Regions from separate parts of the Homo sapiens genome. Here region 1 is linked to region 2. The links are contacts of gene promoters, found by promoter capture Hi-C in human tissues and cell types (Jung and others, 2019). All regions are on one chromosome and are shown on one strand. The core of a region is centred on a gene start or on the middle of the fragment in contact, and the rest is flanking DNA. Distances in the headings are between cores, read along the strand shown. Region 1 has its middle 12 kb from the start of ARPC2. Region 2 holds the start of CXCR1 (C-X-C motif chemokine receptor 1).

Region 1 (5,661 bases), core at 1,363-3,862, 39 kb before region 2:
AGAGACTAACTTAAGATCCAAAGATGCAAATAGGTTGAAAATCAAAGAATAGAAAAATATATTCTGGGACTGGGCACAGTGGCTCATACCTGTAATCTCAGCACTTTGTCTTTTGTTTTTTTTGAGACAGAGTCTCGCTCTGTTGCCCAGGCTGGAGTGAAGTGGCTCACTGCAACCTCTGTCTCTGGGGTTCGAGTCATTCTCCTGCCCCAGCCTCCCGAGTAGCTGGGACTGCAGGTGGGTACCACCACACCCCAGCTAATTTTTTTGTATTTTAAGTAGAGATGGGGTTTCACCATGTTGGCCAGGCTAGTCTCGAGCTCCTAACCTCAAGTGATCCACCCACCTCAGCCTCCCAAAGTGCTGGTATTACAGGCATGAGCCACCATGCCTGGCCAGTCCCAGCACTTTGGAAGACCAAGGCAGGAAGATCACCTGAGCCAGGAGTTTGAGATCAGCCTAGGTAACATGGCAAGACCCTGTCTCTACTAAAAATAAAAAAAATTAGCCAAGAATGGTGGTGCACACCTGGTTCCAGCTACTGGAGAGGTTGAGGTGGAAGGATTGCTTTAGTCCGGGAATACTATGCAGCCATGGCTGCAGTGAGCTATGTTTGTGCCACTACATTCCAGTCTGGGTGGCAGGGTGAGACTGTGTCTCTGAAAAAAAAAAAAAAGATATTCTAGGCAAACTGTAACCAAAATAGAGCTGGAATGGCTATGCTAGTATCAGAAAGAATATATTTTAAGTCAAGAATTGTTATAAGAGACAAAAAGTGTTTATATTGATAATAGGATCAATTCATCAGGAAAATATAATAATTATAAACATATACACATCAAACAACAGAGTCCAAAATATATAAAGCAAATATGGACAGAATTAAAGGGAAAAATAGTTCTACGATAATAGTTGGAGACTTCAATGTCCTACTTTCAATAATAGAGTGAACACCTAGACAGAAGATTGGCAAGGAAATAGAGGACTTGAAGAACATCATAAACTAACTAGACTGCAGATAACACAGATCACTCCACATAACAACAGCAGAATATACTTCTCAAGTGTACATGGAGCAGTTTCTAGGATAGAACATATGCTAGGCCAGAAAATGATTCTCAATACATTAAAAAAATCAAAATCATACAAAGTATCCTCTTCAACCACAGTGGAATGAAGATACAAATAAATAGCAGAAGAAAAAAACTGGAAAATTCACAAAGACAGGGAAATTGAACAACACATTTTTAGCCAATTTAAAGAAGAATTAACACCAACTCTACTCAAACATTTCCAAAAAATGGAAGAGGAACGAACATTTTCTAACACATTCTATGAGGCCAGTATTACTCTGATATCCAGACAAAGATGCCATGAGAGAAGCGAAATTCAGGCCAATATCTCTATGAATAGACACAGGAATCCCCAACCAAATGCTAGCAAACTAAATCCAATAGCACTTTATAATAATTGGCTGGGTGTGGTGGCTCGCGCCTGTAATCCCATGACTTTGGGAGGTTGAGGCAGGAGGATCGCTAGAGGTCAGGAGTTTGAGACCAGCCTGGCCAACATGGGGAATGCTATCTCTACAAAAAAACAAAAATTAGCTGGTGTGATGGCATGTGCCTGTAATTCCAGCTATGGAGGCTGACACATGAGAATCACTTGAACCCTGGAGGCAGAGGTTGCAGTGAGCTGAGATTGCACCACTGTGCTCCAGCCTGGACAACCAGAATGAGACCCTGTCTCAAACAAACAAACAAACAAACAAACAAACAAACAGAATCACATACCATGTCTAAGTGGAATTTATCCCAGAAACCAAGAGTGGTTCAACACAAGGAAATCAATCAATGTGATATGCCACAATAATAAAATGACAAGAAAAAACATGGTCATCTCAATAGATGCAGAAAAAGCATTTGATAAAATTCAGCACCTTTTGATGATAAAAACTCAGAACACTGGAAATAGTAGGTGCTATGATTTGAATGTATGTGTCCCTCCAAAATTCATATGTTGAAACTCAACCCCAATGCAATAGAATTAAGATGTGGGTCCTGAAGGAGGTTATTAGTGCCCTCATAAAAGGGCTTGAGAGAACTAACTGGCTCCCCTTTCCCCTTTAATCTCTTCTGCTACGTGAGGACACCGTGTTGGTCTCCTTTTGCCCTTCTACCTTTTCCTGCTTATTGTGAGGATGCCTCAAGAAAATGCTATATATGGAACAGGCCCTCACCAAACACCAAATCTTCTGGCATTTTGGTGTTGGACTTCCCAGCCTCCAGAACTGTGAGAAGCAAATTTCTTTCTTCTTTTTGGTGGTGAGGAGACAGGGTCTCGCTCTGTTGCCCAGGCTGGAGTGCAGTGACAAGATCCTGGCTCACTGCTGCCTCAAACTCCTTGGCTCGAGCAGTCCTCCCACTTCAGCTTCCCAAGTAGCTGGGACTGTAGGTGCCTGCCATCATGCCTAGCTAATTTTTAAATGTCTAATAGAGATAAGTCCTCGCTATGTTACCTGAGGTGGTCTTGAACTCCTGGCCTCAAATAATCTTCCCACTTTGGCCTCCCAAATTGTTGGTATTACAGGCATGAGCCATTGTGCCTGGCAGAAATACATTTCTATTATTTGTAAATTACTCACTCTAAGGTATTTTGTGATAGCAGCAGAATGGGTTAAGATAAAAGGGAACTTCCTTTACATGATAAAGGGCATTTATGAAAAAAATCCCACAACACATCATTCTCAATGGTGAAAGACTAAAAGCTTAGTTTCTAGAATCAGAAGCAAGACAAAGATGTCTGTTGTCATCTGTGCTATTCAACATTATACTGGAAGTCCTAGACAGAGCAATTTGGCAAGAAAAATAAATAAAAGGCCTCTAAATAGCAAAATAAGAAGTAAAACTACCACGATTTGTAGATGACTTGGCTCTCTGTATAGAAAATCCCATAGAATCTCAAAAACCTACTATAGCTGGTAAAGGAATTAAGCAAAGTTGGTGCAAGGCCAACATACAAACATGAGCTCTGTTTCTTTACACTAGCAGTGAACAATCTGAAAAGGAAATTAAGAAAACAATTCAATTTACAGTAGCATCCGAGAGAATAAATTACCTTGGAATAAATTTAACTGAGGAGGTGAAAGACTTGTACACCAAAAACTAAAAACATTGATGGAAGAAACTAAGGAAGACCTAAATGAATGGAAAGACATCCCATGTTCATGGGTTGGGAGTGTTAATATTGTTAAGATGGCAATATTCCCCAAAGCAATCTATAGATTCAATGTAATCCCGATCAAAATTCCAATGGTCTTTTTTTTGGAGAAATTGAAACTTATCCTCAAGTTCCTATAAAACTGCAGGGACAGGCTGGGTACAGTGGCTCATGCCTGTAATTCCAGCACTTTGGTAGACTGAGGTGGGCAGATCATGGGGTCAGGAGATCAAGACCATCCTGGCCAACATGGTGAAGTCCTGTCTTTACTAAAAATACAAAAATTAGTTGGGCATGGTGGTGCATGCCTGTAGTCCCAGCTACTTGGAAGGCTGAGGCAGGAGAATTGCTTGAACCCGGGAGGCGGAGGCTGCAGTGAGCCGAGATCACGCCACTGCGCTCTAGCTTGGGCAACAGAGCGAGACTCTGTCTCAAAAAGAAAAAAAACAAAAAACAAAAAACAATACCCAGAGAACTGCAGGGACCTCTGAATAGCCAAAACAATATTTAAAAAGAAAAAGAAAATTGAAAGACTCACACTTCCTGATTTCCAAACTTACCAGGAAGGTACCTGATTTCCAAACTTCCCAGGAAGGTGTTTTTGAGACAGGGCCTAACTCTGTCACCTAGGCTGGAGTGCAGTGGCACAATCTTGGCTCACTGCAACCCCTGGGCCCTGGACTCAAGTGATTTTCCCATCTCAGCCTCCCAAGTAGCTGGGACTACAGGTGCACACTACCACATTTGGCTAATTAAAAAAATATTTTTTTTTCTGGAGAGTTGAGGTCTCACTATATTGCCCACGCTGAAGTGTGGTACTTGTATAAAGACAGACACATATAGACCAATAAAATAGAATTGAGAGTTTAGCAATAAAACCAAACATCTATGGTCAATTGATTTTTTACAAGGGTGCCATTTAATGGGAGGAAAGAAGAGTCTCTTTAACAGATTGTGGTGGGACAATGGGATAACCACATGCAAAAGAAAAAATGAATTCATACCCTTGCCTCATTCCACATGCAAAAACTAATTCAAACTGGATCAACAACCTAAATGTAAATGATAAAACTATTAGAAGAAAACATGAGGTAAATCTTCATGACCTCAGATTTGGCACTCAAATCTTGAGCAACAGAGAAAGAAAAAGATAACTTGTTCTTTCTTTCTTTCTTTTTTTTTTCTCTTGAGACAGAGTCTCACTCTGTTGCCTAGGCTGGAGTGCAGTGGTGCGATCTCGGCTCACCGAAACCTCTGCCTCCCGAGTTCAAGTGATTCACCTGCCTCAGTCTCCCAAGTAGCTGGGACTATAGGTGTGCGCCACCATGCCATGCTAATTTTTGTATTTTTAGTAGAGACAGGGTTTCACCATGTTGGCCAGGCTGGTTGCGAACTCCTGACCTCAGGTGATCCACCTGTCTCAGCCTCCCAAAGTGCTGGGATTACAGGTGTGAGCCACTGTGCCCAGCCAAATTGTTCTTTCTTAAAATTAAAAACTTGTGATAGACGTGTACCAACTGTTCCTCCAAACCTGAGATGAGTCAGCCAAGAACTGCCATCAAGTACATTAAGCTGAAGGTCTGAACCTATGTAATACAATAGGTTGTGCTATTTACAGAAAATGAGTGACTAAACAAAAAAAATTTTTTTAATTAATAGAGATGGGGTCTCACTATGTTGCCCAGGCTGGTCTTGAACTCCTGGGCTTAAGTGATCCCCCGCCTCAGCCTCCCAAAGTGCTGGGATTACAGGCGTGATCCACTGTGCCCAGCCTGTTGTTTAAATTTTAAGTGGTTTAATGGGTCTCCCAAGGAGTTACCTGCTTTGGAAAATCGCATATATTGAACCTCTCGTTTTGGTATAGAAAGAGATGTGGCTGGGCGCGGTGGCTCACGCCTGTAATCCCAGCACTTTGGGGGGCTGAGGTGGGTGGATCATGAGGTCAGGAGATAGAGACCATCCTGGCTAACACAGTGAAACCCCGTCTCTACTAAAAATACAAAAAATTAGCCGAGTGTGTTGGCACGCGCCTGTAGTCCCAGTTACTCGGGAGGCTGAGGCAGGAGAATCGCTTTAACCCAGGAGGTGGAGGTTGCAGGGAGCCTAGATCAGGCCATTGCACTCCAGCCTGGGTCACAGAGCGAGACTCCATCTCAAAAAAAAAAAAAAAAAGAGAGATGCATCACTTTTGTTAGTAGAAAATTTCTCCTTGTCTCTACTGAAAAAATGTTGAGTTGAAGGAACGGGAAATTATTAACTTGCCTGAGGTGTTCTCATGACTTGATCCAGTTAAGTTAGGAGGAGCAAATGTGACAGTGGAGATTAAGGAGATATTTTTTAAAAATTATTTATTTATTTATTTATTTTCGAGACAGGGTCTTGCCCTGTCACCCAGGCTGGAGTGCAGTGGCGTAATCATAGCTCACTGCAGGCTTGATCTCT
Region 2 (5,711 bases), core at 2,377-4,876:
CCCACATTGGCCTCTCAAAGTGTTGGGATTACAGGCATAAGCCACCATGCCTGGCCTATTTATTTATTTGTTAATTTTTTTAAAAAAAATTGAGATTGCAGGAAATAATTTTTAAATTTAATTTTAGTTTTAAAACGGAGATTGCAGGAAACAAATATGCTCACTTTTCAAGGTCCTTCTCTGGCTTCCTCTGGAGACTGGAGATCAGGGCTGGGAGGTCTGCACCTGGCTAGGTCACGTGTCTGTCAATGCCCCTGTATCTTTACCACTGCAGCCTTGACCCAGTGTCTCACTGACACTACTCCCTGCTCCTCTCATCCTAGACCACATTTGGTTTCCAGAACTCTCACAGTTGGGCATGTTTTGGTTGCTGGTAACAGAAAAGTCAACTTAAACTGGTCTTAACAATAAAGACAATTTATTGGCTCATGGAACCGAAGAAAGTACAGAGAGAAGATGGCCTCTGGGCATGGTTTGTTCAGGACTCTTGGTCTGTTTCTCTGATTCTCTCAACTCTGCCTTCTTCTGTGTGTTGGTTTTTTCCTTGGACTGTTTTTGCCATTTATGGTAGCAAAATGGCTGCTGACTGCAACAAGACTATATACTTGCTTTTCCACATTCATTGAGCAAACATCTGAACTTTGCTCTGACTGGATCATCTTGGGTCACAGACTCACTCCCTGAGCCTGTTGCTGTGGTTACGAGGACGTCACTGGGGAGAGAGGAGAAACCTCCCTCTACCCCTTTCCTCTACTTTGATCCCAGATCCAAGTGGATTCTTCTGGAGGAATGAGAAGAGATGCTGAAGCTGGCATAAGGCTGATGCAGGGACAAAATAGATGTTCTTACAGCCACATTGTGCTGTTCACATGGTCTGTGCAGAAGTCATCATGTTTAAAACAGAGTGGTAAGAAGATGTCACCCAAAGAGATACTACATTTTGCCAGTTGACTGGCATTCGGGCTGCACCTGTCACAGCTTTCTTTGTGGCATTAGGAGCTCTACATGGAATGGAAAAATGCTTCTCAGCAGGAACATTCTAGGCCATTTTAAGAGGGCACAGTTATAAGTGGGAAGTGAGGTATAGAAGATAGGTTGGGTGGGCTGACTTGCTGGAACATTTTGAAGTGGGTAAAATTTTATTCTAAACTCATCTATATGTGCTTTCTCCCTCCTTCAGTGAAATGCTCGTCCTACTGCGAAGTGAAAGGTTCTTTCCACCCTTGTCCTCCAGATGCAACTTCTCCTGGAGACCCCAGCATTGCTGTTGCCCTCACCACACTCATGCAGCAGGGCTGCTCCCCTTCACTCCTCGGGCTCCAGGAGACCAGCCTCTTCCCTAACCCCTCAGTGATTCCTTGAAATAGACTGGAATAGTGAACCGACTTACTGAGGGTTTAGGAAAAGCAGAAGGGAACTATACACCAAGAAGAACTTAACATACGGTGTTAAATATACCTGCTCTTGGCCCTGGTCTTTCTCAAGGGGGTGTCTCACAGGGGATTCCCTGTCTAGCAACTGCTGCCCCCTTGTGGCAAAAACTATCCTTCTCCCGGCCTCAGGGTCTTTCTTGAGTATAGGCAGGTGTTTTGCAGTCTAGGCCCCCGTCTTTTTTCTCCTGTGTCCCCAGTGACTATTTTCTGCCCTTGGGGCTGATTTTCCCTAGATGATTAATAGAGGGAGTCTCCCACCTCCTGGGACTACCCCATCTTTGACTCCTTTCTAGTCTAGGCGTTAGAGCACAATAGTCCAACATCAGTAAAAGCAAAGCATGAGTGGCTATTGTCCCCTTACACTTCCTGTTACCATCTATGAATGATAAAAGAGCCCAGGAGGAAAGCACAACTTAGCTTAAAAAATAGGCTTGCCGGCTGGGCATGGTGGCTTATGCCTGTAATCCCAGTGCTTTGGGAGGCAAAGGCAGGAGGATCACTAGAGGCTAGGAGTTCAAGATAAGCCTGGGCAGTATATCAGGACCCTTTCTCTACAAATAAATAAATAACTAAATAAAAAATAAAAATAAAAATATAATATAAAAAAAGAAAGCCAGATGTAGTGGCTCTTGCCTGTAGTCCCAGCTATTCAGGAGGTTGAGGTGGGAGGATTGCTTGAGCCCAGGCATTTGAGGTTACACTGAGCTATGATCACACCACTGCATTCTAGCCTTGGCAACACAGTGAGAGCCTGTCTCTTAAAAAAAGAAAAAAATTCTTTCCAGTGCAGAACTGTAGGAATCCATGGCATGGTAAATTTGGCATTTGTGGTAGGGCAGGATTTATACTTGCACAGACTGGCATTAGCTCCAAACATTAGAGGAAGGTTGGAAAGAAGCAATGCCAGGCAGACCAACTGGGCTGTGTGGAAGTGAAGCTATCAGGCATACCAGTGACTTTAGTGTGTAGCCAAAAGCAATAGACACTGAATCGTGGTGGTGACTTATGGTCCATGAATCACAGGAGAAATGTCTCCCTTCATTTATTCCACAACCATTGATTGAGCACCTACTATATTCCCTGAAAGAGAACATAAACATGAATTGAAGAAGGTTCTTGCTGTCTCATGGCTCCCAAGCTAGAAGAGGGCTGACTTGTAAATGCCTCACAGCAGGGTTCATGTTATATGGAGAAGTGACGAAGGTGCCAGAAGACTCAAGCTAGGGGACAGCCATTAGCTGCTGGAGGCAGCTAAGGTGGGTTCCCAGAGAAGCCATTCTCCGTTACTGAGATGGGGGCTGCAGTGACCTTGACCACAGCTCTTCCATTCATGGACTGCCCCAGCTCTGTGGTCTCTCTGCTAACCAGCCAGACTCTGGGAGTGGCCTATGCCGTCAGCCTCAGGGCCATTTAAACCAACTGGTCATTGGCAGTGATTGTGCGAAAGAGTGGCTGGCGGCAAAGGAGGGTTTGTGTTCCATTCAAATACCCTCAAAAAGCCTGAAAAATAAGTAGAGATTGAGGCCAGGCCTTGGAGTTGTGGAAGGTGGAGAACACTGGGAAGCCAACCTCCAAAGAAGACCAGGTTGGAGGCAAAGGAGGAAGGGGAGCTCTCGTTGGCAAACCAACAGGGAAGCCAAGGATATCCCAGTAACTGCTCTCACATCCTTGATGAGAATGCCTTGAATCCGAGCTAGGCCACCTCAAAGAAGCCTGCAAAATAAGTAGAGATTGAGTGCCTGCTGTTCAAACACAACTCAAGCGCAGTCCTCCTCCTCTTTCCCACTGGATTGCCCCCAAGTCCCTCCTATGGGGGACTCCTTCTGAAGTCTCTGCTGTAAGTCAAATCCTTCGCCCTTTATACTTGGTCAGGAAGTTGCAAGCTTCCACAGGTGATATACTAGGGAATTTAGGAATAAACAAATGGAAATAAATTCAAGAAAAGGAAAATAATAAAAATGATCATCCATAGAGTGGAGAATTCAGATAATGGACCCTCAACCCCAGCTTCACACCTGGGACCCCCACTTGGTCATATGGACCCTGGCAGTCTCTAATCACAAGTCTGTGATCCCTTGACTTAAACTGTTCTTCCCCAAATGTAGACATGGGTGGGGCTCAGAAGGGAGGTGTCATCTGATGTGGTTTCCTTATTTCCGTTTATTCATCAAGTGCCCTCTAGCTGTTAAGTCACTCTGATCTCTGACTGCAGCTCCTACTGTTGGACACACCTGGCCGGTGCTTCAGGTAGGAAGCCACCTCTGTTTGCTAGGACTTTCTGTGGGGTAGGGCTGCTTGGCTTGACTTTATTTTGGAAAATGTATTCATTTCTGTGGGAGCTGAGGATTTCTGCTGCCCGCTTCCTCTCTTGTGACCACCACTCATACATGGAGTTAGCAGGTGAAGAGGACAGCCTCCTCATCCCCTCTTTTTATACCTTGCCCTTTTGTGGGAAGAGGCTGACCATTCCCCAATTTGATGTTTATTGCTTCACCTTAAGACTTTGTCTTCAGTGAAAATGCAAATACTGGTAGGGAGGGAACACACTAAAATGTGTGGATCTGAGTGGACTCATCATACACCCTCAGGCCTGGCAGCAAATGAGAGGTGGATGATTCTGTCTTCCTCGATTTGCAGATGAGAAGACTGAAATCTATAGGGGTACGAGACCCCACTCAAGGTCATGAGACTTATTTATTTATTTATTTATTTATTTTGAGATGGAGTCTCACTCTGTCGCCTAGGCTGTAGTACTGTGGCACGATCTCGGCTCACTGCAACCTCCATTTCCCGGGTTCAAGTGATTCTCCTGCCTCAGCCTCCTGAGTAGTTGGGATTACAGGTGCACGCCACCACACCCAGCTAATTTTTTTGTATTTTTAGTAGAGACGGGGTTTCATCATTTTGGTCAGGCTGGTCTCGAACTCCTGACTTCATGATCTGCCTGCCTTGGCCTCCCAAAGGGCTGGGATTACACACGAAACTTATTAATGGTAGAATCAGGATGGAATGAAGACTGGATGCTAGGTGTCTTTACAACCAACCTCGGTGACTTTCCAAAGGCTTTCAGACTTCTCTGGAGAGTCCTGGAGCTTTGAGGGGCTCTTTAGGGGCCATCTGGGTTCGGAGATTAGCACACTCTGCCCCACAGTGGCTCAGCTTTTATCTGCTTCACATACTGGGCTTCTGGGAAGATCTTATTTCAGTAAACTATTTCACAATAGGAAATATATTTGAAAACTCTTGAATGATTCTGTGGATTTTTTCAGGGGTGGAGGGTTTCAGGGACCAAGATGGAGACTTTATCTTCTCAAATACTTAAAACTCCTTTAGACAGAGGAACAAAATATGTGCTCCTCATTTAAAGAAGGCTTAAAATATACAGTTTAATGCAATGTGTTGTTATCACTTCCTTCCCCCAGTAGATTTTAAGGAGGGTAAACAAGAATCAGGGAGAACATAGGAATAGAAATAGTAGAAGGGGACACCTGGGAACAGGTTTGCCTTCTTGCATTTTGCTTAATGCTGGCCCTTCCCTGAATGTCTAAGACCAACCTGGTCCCCACATCCAAATGCACAGACACAGCTGAGGATGGAGAAGGCTAAAGAGGGACAGAGGTAGAGACATAGGCTGAGAGGAGGCAGTTGTAGGTTGAGCTAGGGCTAAGGTGTTTTCCCCATATTCCATCTTACCCCACACTCAGGCCAGGCCTTAGAGTTGTGGAAGGTGGAGAACACTGGGAAGCCAACCTCCGAAGAAGACCAGGTTGGAGTCAAAGGAGGAAGGAGAGCTCTCATTGCCAAACCAACAGGGAAGCCAAGGATATCCCAGTAACTGCTCTCACATCATTGATGAGAATGCCTTGAATCCGAGCTACTAAATCACATTTCCTTCCTTCTAACCTTCCAGTTAGATCAAACCATTGCTGAAACTGAAGAGGACATGTCAAATATTACAGATCCACAGATGTGGGATTTTGATGATCTAAATTTCACTGGCATGCCACCTGCAGATGAAGATTACAGCCCCTGTATGCTAGAAACTGAGACACTCAACAAGTATGTTGTGATCATCGCCTATGCCCTAGTGTTCCTGCTGAGCCTGCTGGGAAACTCCCTGGTGATGCTGGTCATCTTATACAGCAGGGTCGGCCGCTCCGTCACTGATGTCTACCTGCTGAACCTGGCCTTGGCCGACCTACTCTTTGCCCTGACCTTGCCCATCTGGGCCGCCTCCAAGGTGAATGGCTGGATTTTTGGCACATTCCTGTGCAAGGT

What was found. Contacts are between HindIII fragments. The study calls those that stand out against the background at their distance.
Region 1: a contact is called between a fragment that was not itself captured here and the fragment with the promoter of CXCR1 in region 2, in 1 of the 25 tissues and cell types used here (IMR-90 fibroblasts).

What each region holds. Positions count from the first base shown.
Region 1 is chr2:218,202,510-218,208,170 of GRCh38, reverse strand. No RefSeq gene overlaps it. Among named protein-coding and RNA genes, the nearest start is that of ARPC2, 12 kb to the left of the region's middle. The HindIII fragment of the contact is 3,750 bases long and covers 738-4,487 here.
Region 2 is chr2:218,164,877-218,170,587 of GRCh38, reverse strand. It overlaps CXCR1 (C-X-C motif chemokine receptor 1), which reads left to right and starts at 3,626. Exons shown (of 2, transcript NM_000634.3): 1 at 3,626-3,680; 2 at 5,344-5,711. The coding sequence starts at 5,377. The HindIII fragment of the contact is 8,483 bases long and covers 1-5,711 here.